Linked DNA regions of Homo sapiens: regions 1 and 3 are each linked to region 2. Evidence: promoter capture Hi-C in human tissues and cell types (Jung and others, 2019). All regions are on one chromosome and are shown on one strand. Each heading gives the region's core, a stretch centred on a gene start or on the middle of the fragment in contact. The rest is flanking DNA. Distances are from core to core; before and after follow the strand shown. Region 1 overlaps TMPRSS3 (transmembrane serine protease 3). Region 2 holds the start of TFF2 (trefoil factor 2). Region 3 has its middle 10 kb from the start of TFF3.

What was found. Contacts are between HindIII fragments. The study calls those that stand out against the background at their distance.
Region 1: a contact is called between a fragment that was not itself captured here and the fragment with the promoter of TFF2 in region 2, in 2 of the 25 tissues and cell types used here (mesenchymal stem cells and spleen).
Region 3: a fragment that was not itself captured here is called in contact with the fragment with the promoter of TFF2 in region 2 in 2 of the 25 tissues and cell types used here (lymphoblastoid cells and mesenchymal stem cells).

The regions. Positions count from the first base shown.
Region 1 is chr21:42,390,273-42,392,972 of GRCh38, forward strand. The region is part of intron 2 of TMPRSS3 (transmembrane serine protease 3); the gene reads right to left. Among named protein-coding and RNA genes, the nearest start is that of TMPRSS3, 4.4 kb to the right of the region's middle. The HindIII fragment of the contact is 6,154 bases long and covers 1-2,700 here.
Region 2 is chr21:42,348,919-42,352,371 of GRCh38, forward strand. It overlaps TFF2 (trefoil factor 2), which reads right to left and starts at 2,076. Exons shown (of 4, transcript NM_005423.5): 1 at 1,961-2,076; 2 at 963-1,112. The coding sequence starts at 2,039. It overlaps LOC105372815 (a long non-coding RNA gene), which reads left to right and starts at 3,375. Exons shown (of 3, transcript XR_937755.3): 1 at 3,375-3,453. The HindIII fragment of the contact is 10,226 bases long and covers 1-3,453 here.
Region 3 is chr21:42,303,147-42,306,692 of GRCh38, forward strand. No RefSeq gene overlaps it. Among named protein-coding and RNA genes, the nearest start is that of TFF3, 10 kb to the right of the region's middle. RefSeq lists an enhancer at 3,511-3,546. The HindIII fragment of the contact is 3,935 bases long and covers 1-3,546 here.

The DNA of each region.
Region 1 (2,700 bases), core at 201-2,700, 41 kb after region 2:
GTTGAATAGTATCCCCCAGAAAGACACGTTGAGGTCTTAACTCTTAGTACCTCAGAATGGCATCTTATTTGGAGATGGCCTGGAGAGTCTTTACAGAGTCATCTAGTTAAAATGAGTCATTAGGGTGGGCCCTAATCCAACGTGGCTGTTGCCCTTATAAAAAGGGGGAAAACAGCCGGGTGCAGTGGCTCACTCCTGTAATCCCAACATTTTGGGAAGCCAAAGCGGGTGGATCACCTGAAGTCAGGAGTTCAAGACAAGCCTGGCCAACATGGTGAAACCCCATCTCTATTAAAAATACAAAAATTAGCTGGGCATGATGGCAGGCACCTGTAATCCCAACTACTCAGGAGGCTGAGGCATGAGAATCGCTTGAACCTGGGAGGCAGAGGTGGCAGTGAGCTGAGATCGCACTGCTACACTCCAGCCTGGGCAACAAGAGCAAAACTCCGTCTCCAAAACACAAAAACAAAAAGGAGAAATCAGGACACAGGGACAAACATGCATGAAGGGAAGAGGATGGGAGGAGACACAGGCAGAAGCCAGCCTCATGAAGATGAAGGCAGAGATGGGAACAATGCATCTACACACCAAGAAATGCCAAAGATTATTGGCAAACCACCAGGAGCTAGGAAGAGGCAGGGCACGGTGCCCTATGGGTTTAAGAGGGAGTATGGCCTTGATGACACCTTGGAATTCAGACTTCTGGCCTCCAGAACTGAGACAATAAATTCCTGTTGTTTTAAGTCACCCAGTTTTGGGGACTTTGTTTCAGCAGCCCTATGACACTAAGATGGAGGGGAAGTAGCATCCCAACTTCCAAGGCTGTTTCCCTGCAGAGGAGGGGGTGAAACCCACACGGGGGGCTTGCAGGCAGAGGTAGTGCTGAGATCTCCCAGAGGAGATGCAAGGACAAGATGTTGATTTTTGTTTGTTTGTTTAAATTTTTTCTTATAGAGATGGGGATCTCACTATGTTGCTCAGGCTGATGTCAAACTCCTGGGCTCAAGTGATTCTCCCCACTTGGCTCTCCAAAGTACTGGGATTACAAGCGTGAGCCACCATGTCCAGCCGAGGACAGGATGTTGATACACCATTCTCCACAATTGCTGTGCACAGACACTGACAGCTTTCATTCCAGATCATCTCTTCAAGAATGTGTGTAGAGCAAACAGCCTTGGAAGATACAGATAGCGTCTCCCTCCAGAGCAAGAGGCAGGTTTGTTTACTGTCCAGTTTAACAAATATAATGCCTTCCTCCAGAGCAAAGTTTGCACAGGTCTGCTTGCAGACCACTGTAAAGATGAGGGTTCCCTTAACTCTGGGATATGCAGCAGCAATGCAAACTGCCTGCACGTGCGGCATACACAGGCTGCTCCACATGCCTCTGTGGGACTGAGAAGGCAAAGGCAGCCAGCACAAACAGGATATTTGTGCCCCTTGCTGCACTGTGAGGAATAGAGTCCTTTGTCTCTGACCCAGGACTCTCGTGTCTTCCAAAGCACCCATGAAACTGTGGCAGGCTAAATTTTGGCTTGCAAGTAGGGTGACATCTCAGGCCCTTTACAGTTCTTGCCCCTAGAACCAGGCAAATCTGGTGGAAACAATATGTAAGGAGTGTCCAGATGCCTGGCCAGAAGTATAAGCCTCTCTGGGCAGCAGGAGAATTCCCACTAGCACTCTTCCCTCCTGGGGAGAGCAGGCCATTTCACCTAAATTACCTCATCAATCCTAAAAATACATGAATGCCCAAGTTGTCTTTGTTAAAAATAAGGAAGATTGGAATCCAGAAAGGGGAGAGAAGCCTGCCCAGGGTCACACAATTGCCCAGGATGAGACTGGCACCTGCCTCTCTTCTCCTAGTCTTGGACATGTTGAGCCGAGAGCTCTGTCATGGAAGAGCTAAAAAGATCTTTCCCTGCCTGACCGTGGAGACTCACAACTTCTACCCTCTGGCAATAAGGAGTGTGATAATGAAATGATCAATATCAGTTGAGGCTGCCTAAGAAAGAAGAGAATTTGAAGACAAAAATGATGAAAAGACATGGAATGCGAGGAGAAAAGAGTGTGCAGAGGAGAGGGTGAGCAGGAGATGGAGGAAGAGCAGGGAAATAGAAGCTGCACTTCGCAGATGTGGAGGCTGTGAGGAACGCAGAGTGAGGGAGGATGAGAGACCGTGGCAAGTTCTGTGTTTTAGGCCTGGACAAGCTCAGTGGTTTGTTGAAGCTGCATTATCCATACCTAGAACAGCAGGGGACACACAGTAGTCCTTGATAAAAATGTGCTAGATGAATGAATGACATCATGATAATGAAGGCCGTTTTAACTCAGGGTCTGAGACCAAGTCCTTCCAGGACAGCCCATCTGCGGTGGTGAGCTGGCAGAAAGGATCCTCTCTCCACCCTCACACCTCGATCCCCCGCACACTAACAATTCTCCTCTATAAGGATGCCCACCCTTCGTCTTATACTTAGAAATCTGCAGGAACCCCAGGAATGACATCTTCACATTCCAGCTGCTCTGTATTTAAGTTGGATTTAGAAAATGACCCCAAATTGTCAAATCAAAGATTGACATTTAATCGAAAGGCTGTGTCAGTTCCCGTTTGCCCTGCTTCTCTGTCAGGCTGCCCTGAGGGCACTGCAGGGGCCCCACGCCTCCTCTGTGCTTGGTCCTTGAGGACATTGCCTGGAATAAACA
Region 2 (3,453 bases), core at 826-3,325:
CAGTCCTCTAGGCTACCTCTAGACTAGCAGTCCAGGCTAGTCCCAGACTAACCAACCTGGGCTAGCTCCAGACTAAACAACCTGGGCTAGCTCCAGACTAACAAACCTGGGCTAGCCCCAGACTAACCAACCTGGGCTACTAGCCTCAGACTAACCAACCTGGGCTAGCTCCAGACTAACCAACCTGGGCTAGCTCCGATTAACCAACCTGGGCTAGCCCTAGACTAACCAGCCTACGCTAGCCCTAGACTAACCAACCTGGGCTAGCTCCAGACTAACAAACCTAGGCTACTAGCCCCAGACTAACCAGCCTATGCTAGCCCTAGACTAACCAACTTGGGCTAGCTCCAGACTAACCAACCTAGGCTACTAGCCCCAGACTAATCAACCTGTGCTAGCTCCAAACTAACTAACCTGGGCTAGCCCTAGACTAACTAGCCTACACTAGCCCTAGACTAACCAACCTGGGCTAGCCCCAGACTAACCAACCTGGGCTACTAGCCCCAGACTAACCAACCTGGGCTAGCTCCAGACTAACCAACCTGGGCTAGCCCCAGACTAACCAGCCTACGCTAGCCCTAGACTAACCAACCTGGGCTAGCTCCAGGCTAACCAACCTGGGCTACTAGCCCCAGACTAACCAACCTGCGCTAGCTCCAAACTAACCAACCTGGGCTAGCCTTAGACTAACTAGCCTACACTAGCCCTAGACTAACCAACCTGGGCTAGCCCCAGACTAACCAACCTGGGCTAGCCCCAGACTAACCAACCTGGGCTAGCTCTAGACTAACCAACCTGGGCTAGCCCCAGACTAACCAACCGGGGCTAGCTCGAGACTAACCCACCCAGGCTAACCCTAGACTAGCAACTGGGCCTCCTCCGGCCCCTGCTCTGGGCTCCGCCTGTGAAGCTGGGTCCTGGGTTGCCAGCTGCTGGCCCAGGAAGATTCCCTGGAAGATTACCTTGCTTTGGGAGGGGGTGGAAACACCAGGGGACCCCAGTGACACTGGAGTCGAAACAGCATCCATTGTCAAAACACTGGTCACTGGTGATTCCAGGGAAGCCGCAGTTCGTCCTGTTATGGGGGCTCAGCCTGGAGCACTGGCAGGGGGCTGTGGAAAGACCCTCAGTCGGCCCCACCCTGGTACCCCAGACCACACTGCTCCTTCTCTCAGAGGTTCTAGGGGATGCCTCTACTGTCTTGTTGCCACATAGAGAAACACAAAGTCTTATCTTGCCCATATTTAAGCAATGCGGTTTCCTCCTGAGAAGCCGATAGGGCTTTGCTGAAATTGTTATATTAGTTTAAAAGGAAAAAAAAAAAAAAGCCAGGCATGGTGGCTCATACCTATAATCCCAGCACTTTAGGAAGCCGAGGCGGGCAGATTGCTTGAGCTCAGGAGTTCAAGACCATCCTGGGCAACATGTCGAAACCCCATCTCTACAAACAATACAAAAAAAAAAATTGGCCGGGCATGATGGTCCACAACTGTGGTTTCAGCTACTCAGGCGGCTGAGGTGGGAGGATCACTTGAGCCTGGGAGGCAGAGGTTGCAGTGAGCCAAGATCACACCACTGCACTCCTGCCTGGGCGGCAAAGCCAGATCCTGTCTCGGAAAAAAACAAAAACAAAACCCTCCTAGAGGAGGGTGAACAGATGGACCCAAGGCCAAGATCCAGGCGAGAGGTGAGTGCTCTGGGACTCCAAGGACCCTTGGTGGGAATGCCCTCCTGGCCCGACACGGGGCCCGCTGACACCTGCCGTCACTCAGCCTTTCCCTAGGAGGGAGGCCCTTCTTGGAGCCACCCTCCTGAGCAGTGGCAAATCCCATGTGAACAACACACATTGCCAGATGCCTTTATAGCCATTCCCCCTCTCAAGTTAATTTATGGTTGTGCTTTTTTTTTTTCTTTAAGAGAAATAAAGAAAGCACATAAAAAGACCCTCTCCTTCACTTACAGGGTTTCTCACTCCCCGCCAGGGCACATAGCCCCAGGACGAGGAGCGCTGCCAGGAGCTGGGCGTCTCGCCGTCCCATGTCTAGCTCAGCTGCACCCCAGGGTGGCTTGCAGAATGCATGGTGTCCACTGCCGGGTATGTTTTATAATCTCCCCTCTGTTTGTCCAACAAGCAGAGATAACCTTTCTTCTCTGCCCCGTGGCCCCAGCCCTTCCACCGTGGAGGCGAAGAGGAGGCAAGAGGCAGCTGTGCCCTGTGCAGGCGAGGCTTCCGGGCCAGGGTGACTCTCTCCCTGCTCGGTGATACCTCTTCCTGCCCTGGACAGAGAGTTGGGTCATGCCAGGCTGCCAGCGTGGAAAACCGGCCACGTGCAGGTCTGGGGCTGGGCACACACAGGGTCACACCCAGGAAGGGATAAGCTATGCATTTCTATTGATAGAGTGGGCAGGGACCACAGGAATTTAGAAAATATTAGGGCCAAGTTTACTGGGGAAAATGTACAGGCCAGCAGATAGCATGGAAAAGTCCCCTCCCTGAGGAAGGGAAGCATCTCAGAGGAGGTAAGAGACTGCTCCCAGGGCTGTGGTTAGAGCCTCCCCAACCGCAGCACGATGCCCTTTGTCCCATCTTCAGCAGGAGGGGCTGCTCTCCATGGAGATGAGGCTGACAGGGTCAGCGGAGTAGCCTGTGACAGGCAGGTTTTAATAAGTTCATTTTCAGCCAACCCCTGAAATGGGTTATTTTTGTTCCATGGGAATGCTCTACATCTTCTGAAAGATGGCACCTGGGACCCAGCCCATGGCCTTCCTGGGGTAGGATGTGCTGGAGAAGGATTCTGTGGACCTGACAGAGAAGACAGAAGCCAGAGAGTAGACACCCGGAAAGAAAGAGGGAAAAGTGTGGTGGGAAGGACAGAGGGGACCCGAAGTTCCCCACGCCAGGGAAATGACAGGGGGTTGCCAGTCTGTTTCTGATGGTTGAGCAGTCAGGGGCCCAGAGACGCAGGAAACCCAAAATCCTTGGTCCACCACGGGGCTGTCCTCAGGGTCTGGAGAGCAGGCCCCATACTCCAGGCCCCCATCCTCCAGGCCCTCGTCCCCCAGGCTCCATCCTCCAGGCCCCCATTCTCCAGGGCTCCATCCTCTAGGCCCCTGTCCTCCAGGCCCCCATCCTCTAGGCCCTCATCCTCCAGGCTCCATCCTCCAGGCTCCATCCTCCAGGTTTCATCCTTCAGGCCATCATCCTCCAGGCCCCCGTCCTCCAGGCCCCCATCCTCCAGGCCCCATCCTCCAGGCCCCCATCTTTCAGGCCCCTGTCCTCCAGGCTCTTGTCCTCCAGGCCCTCATCCTCCAGGCCCCTGCTCCTCCAGACCCTCATCCTCCAGACCCTCATCCTCCAGGCCCCCATCTTTCAGGCCCCTGTCCTCCAGGCCCTCTTCCTCCAGACCCTCGTCCTCCAGGCCCCTGTTCCTCCAGACCCTCGTCCTCCAGACC
Region 3 (3,546 bases), core at 604-3,103, 46 kb before region 2:
TCTTCACTGCTCACCGCACCTGCCTATGAGCCTCTAGAAAACAGCTTGCCCAATGAGAGTGCTGCAGCTGAGGCAGCAGCAGACATGTCCGTTTCTGGGGAAGTTACTCAAACAATCGTGCCTCTTAGGGGGCCCTAATGTGCCCCTTCTGGCAGGTTGAAATGCATCTGGCCTTGAAGGGGAAGGTTAGGAAATTATGAAGTACGTGGGTTTAGGGTTGACAACCCCATATCCGTGGACTCCTGGAGATCCCTGAACGCCGTCTAATCTGAATGGTACCACAATTTGGTTTGTCTGAAAATATAGTAGTAACCACGGCAGTGATTTCATTTTTACACGTTTGCATTTTTACATGTCTGTCATTATGCATCTTGGGGTCTCTTTTCCATGACCTACCAGCTTCCCAAGCTTAATAATCAGTATCTCACTATTATGTCATTGGCCAACTGAAAACAGTAGCAAAACATCCTATCATCCAAATTGCTAATAAAATAGAACACCACACCCACACGCTGGCTTCCCATTTTTATAGTCTTATCCTCCCACCTGGAGGGTGTGAATGGGGATCAGTTTTTCAATAGAACATGTATGTTTGGTAAGTTAATATGTGTAGCTGACCCCTTTGCCTTTGTTTTTATATATTTATGTTTTTCTATTGTAGACATATTGATGCAATACCTGTTCATAGTTGAATCTGTTACAAATTGTTACCTTTTATTTGATGAAGAACTATTTAAAGATTTTCCTTTTTTATTTCTTCTAAAGCAAAAGTCAATGCAAGTAACTCTAATCAGCGTGCAAAGGCGTGCATATATATCTGCTATGTAATTATATAATGTTTTTATAATGCTGTGTGGATAACTTTTCACTGATTTAGTTACTTGACTGTAGGAAACACTGTTGCTTTGCACGCTGTGAGAGGTTTGCACTGTTACAGATGAAGGCAACATATTTACATATGTACATGTATATACATATATATATATTCAAAAATAACATCGGCTCTTTGGGGTGTCTGTTTCCTTGGTTGTCTCACGCCACTGGAACATTGAACCCAGACAGACCCTAGGATGTGAGGTTCCTGACTGCACCTTACGGACCACAGAGCCACGTGTCTATTTCTGTAGACCTATCTCCTTAGATTTGTACATGCATTTTTTGCGGACTTGAACTTTGTTTTCTGAAATTAGATGCCATTTATGATGATGTGATGTCAATCAAATAAAGCATCATTATTTTCAGATTTCTGCTTCTCTTTCCTTTTGCTTTCAACAGCCCCAGCTCTCAGACCTGCTGGGGGAGTCGCGTCTGGTAGAGCATCTCGTATTTTCTCCCTACCTGCCCTTGCTCTCAATGGAGCACTTCTCTCTTCAGTGTCAGGATGGATTCCAGTGAGGAAGACAAATAAGAGTGATGGTAAGGAAGCCTGTAGCTCCAGACTCCATGGAGCACCATGTGGTGGCACAGTACCCTACCTTTCCATGCGCAATCTCATCAAACCGTCGTCATCAGAGCTGGAGAGCCGCAACTGGCCCCATTTTTCAGGTTAAAAACACCGAGGCTCAGGGATATTACACAACTTGCCAAAGCCACAGAGCTGGTCGGTGGTGCACGCAGAAGTGAGACCCTGGCCATCCAGGCAGGGCTCCTGGCCACTCCATGGCTCTCCCTTCCTCCGGGAGAGGCATTTAGGATTTGAGACCACACAGGAGGAGAATCCACGTTGTGCAGGAAGTGGTGTGGCAGGTCTGACCCTCATGACCAGTGGAAACTTCTCCTCCCAGACACTTGGCTGAGGGGTGAGATGATGTGCCAACATCTCCAGGGATCGGCCTGGAGGTCCTTGTGCTGTCAAGACCCCTTGTGAGTCAGCACTGGGGCCTGGGTCCAGATGTCATCTGGGATCATCACCTGGGACATGGCCCTACTGGGCCCTACTTGTAGGCGAGGAGGAAGGTGTGCATGTGTGGGTAGGAACGAGACAGTGCAAAAAGCCGCTGCCTGGTGACCTGGCATGCAGACTCGGCCCTCCCACTTGCACGGTGATCCACTGAAGACAACAGCTGCCTCTGTACTCACGCTCCCCCACACTCCCCTCCTTCCTGCCCTGGTTTCTCCATCCCTAGATGCCATCCCATGCCCCAAACCATCCGCCAAGCACAATAACCTCGCCCCCACCCACCCCATGAGGTCACTCGAGTTGACAACCAGATAACAGTTTTTGTTTTGTTTTGTTTTGTTTTGTTTTGTTTGTTTTTGAGACGGGGTCTCGCTCTGTTGCCCAGGCTGGAGTGCAATGACGTTATCTCGGCTCACCACAACCTCCGCCTCCCGGGTTCAAGAGATTCTTCTGCCTCAGCTGCCTGAGTAGCTGGGACTACAGGCGCGTGCCACCATTCTCAGCTAACTTTTGTATTTTTAGTAGAGACAGGGTTTCATTATATTGGCCAGGCTGGTCTCGAACTCCTGACCTCTTGATCCGCCCACCTCAGCCTCTCAAAGTGCAGGGATTACAGGCGTGAGCCACCGCGCCCAATAGCAATTTGATGACCCATCCCCTCCACTGCTGGGAAAAGGCTGGGCACCGCCCACACTCCATGCAGCTCTCTTTCCCTGGCTCGGAATCGCTGCAGGCGCCACAGACCAGACGCGCACTGTTCCCCACTCCTGCTTATCGGCCGCGCGGCATCCCCTTGTCGCAGCACTCCAGCATCCATGCAGCCGCGCGGCACCCCGTCTTCGGAGCACTCCAGAATCCATGCAGAGCGCAGCACCCCACATCCAGAGCGCTCCAGAATCCATGAAGCACGCGGCACCCCCTCGTCAGAGTGCTCCAGAATCCATGAAGTGCGCAGCACCCCTTAATCGGAGCGCTCTAGAACCCGTGCAGCGAGCAGCACCCCACACCCGGAGCGCTCCAGAATCCATGAAGCCAGCAGCACCCCACACCCGGAGTGCTCCAGAATCCACGCAGCACGTGGCATCTCCTCGTCATAGCGTTCTAGAATCCATGCAGCGAGCAGTACCCCACACCGGGAGCGCTCCAGAATCCACGCAGCGTCTGGCACATCTTTATCAGAGCGCTCCAGAGTCCATGCAGCCACAGTCCTCCAACGGACCCTGAGATTGTTTCTGCAAAAGGCCATGCCTTCATAAATCTGAAAATTTGGAAAACATCCTTCTACTTATATCCTTACAACCCACCATTCAAGCTGTAGAAGCCTTTCTGGAACCCCAAGCAGAAGGATATCCAAAATGTAAAAACGGTGGGGCCTGCAATCCCACGGAGCACCCCCCACTCTCACGGTGCCCAGGTCGTCCCACTCAGCACGGACATTCTGCCTCCAGCCCTGGGGCCTCCAGGTTATACCCAAAAGAGGTGACTCTTGGGGACGTAAGGTGCGTGGGGTGCCATGAACCCTCCCAAGGCTGCAGCCTCTTGGGCAAGGAGTCCACAGTGCTGTTGCCAGCCAAATTGGCTGCACCCCTGCACGAGGGGGCTGATCTTCCCCACACCACCACTGTGGCTGGCATCGCAGTAGGTAC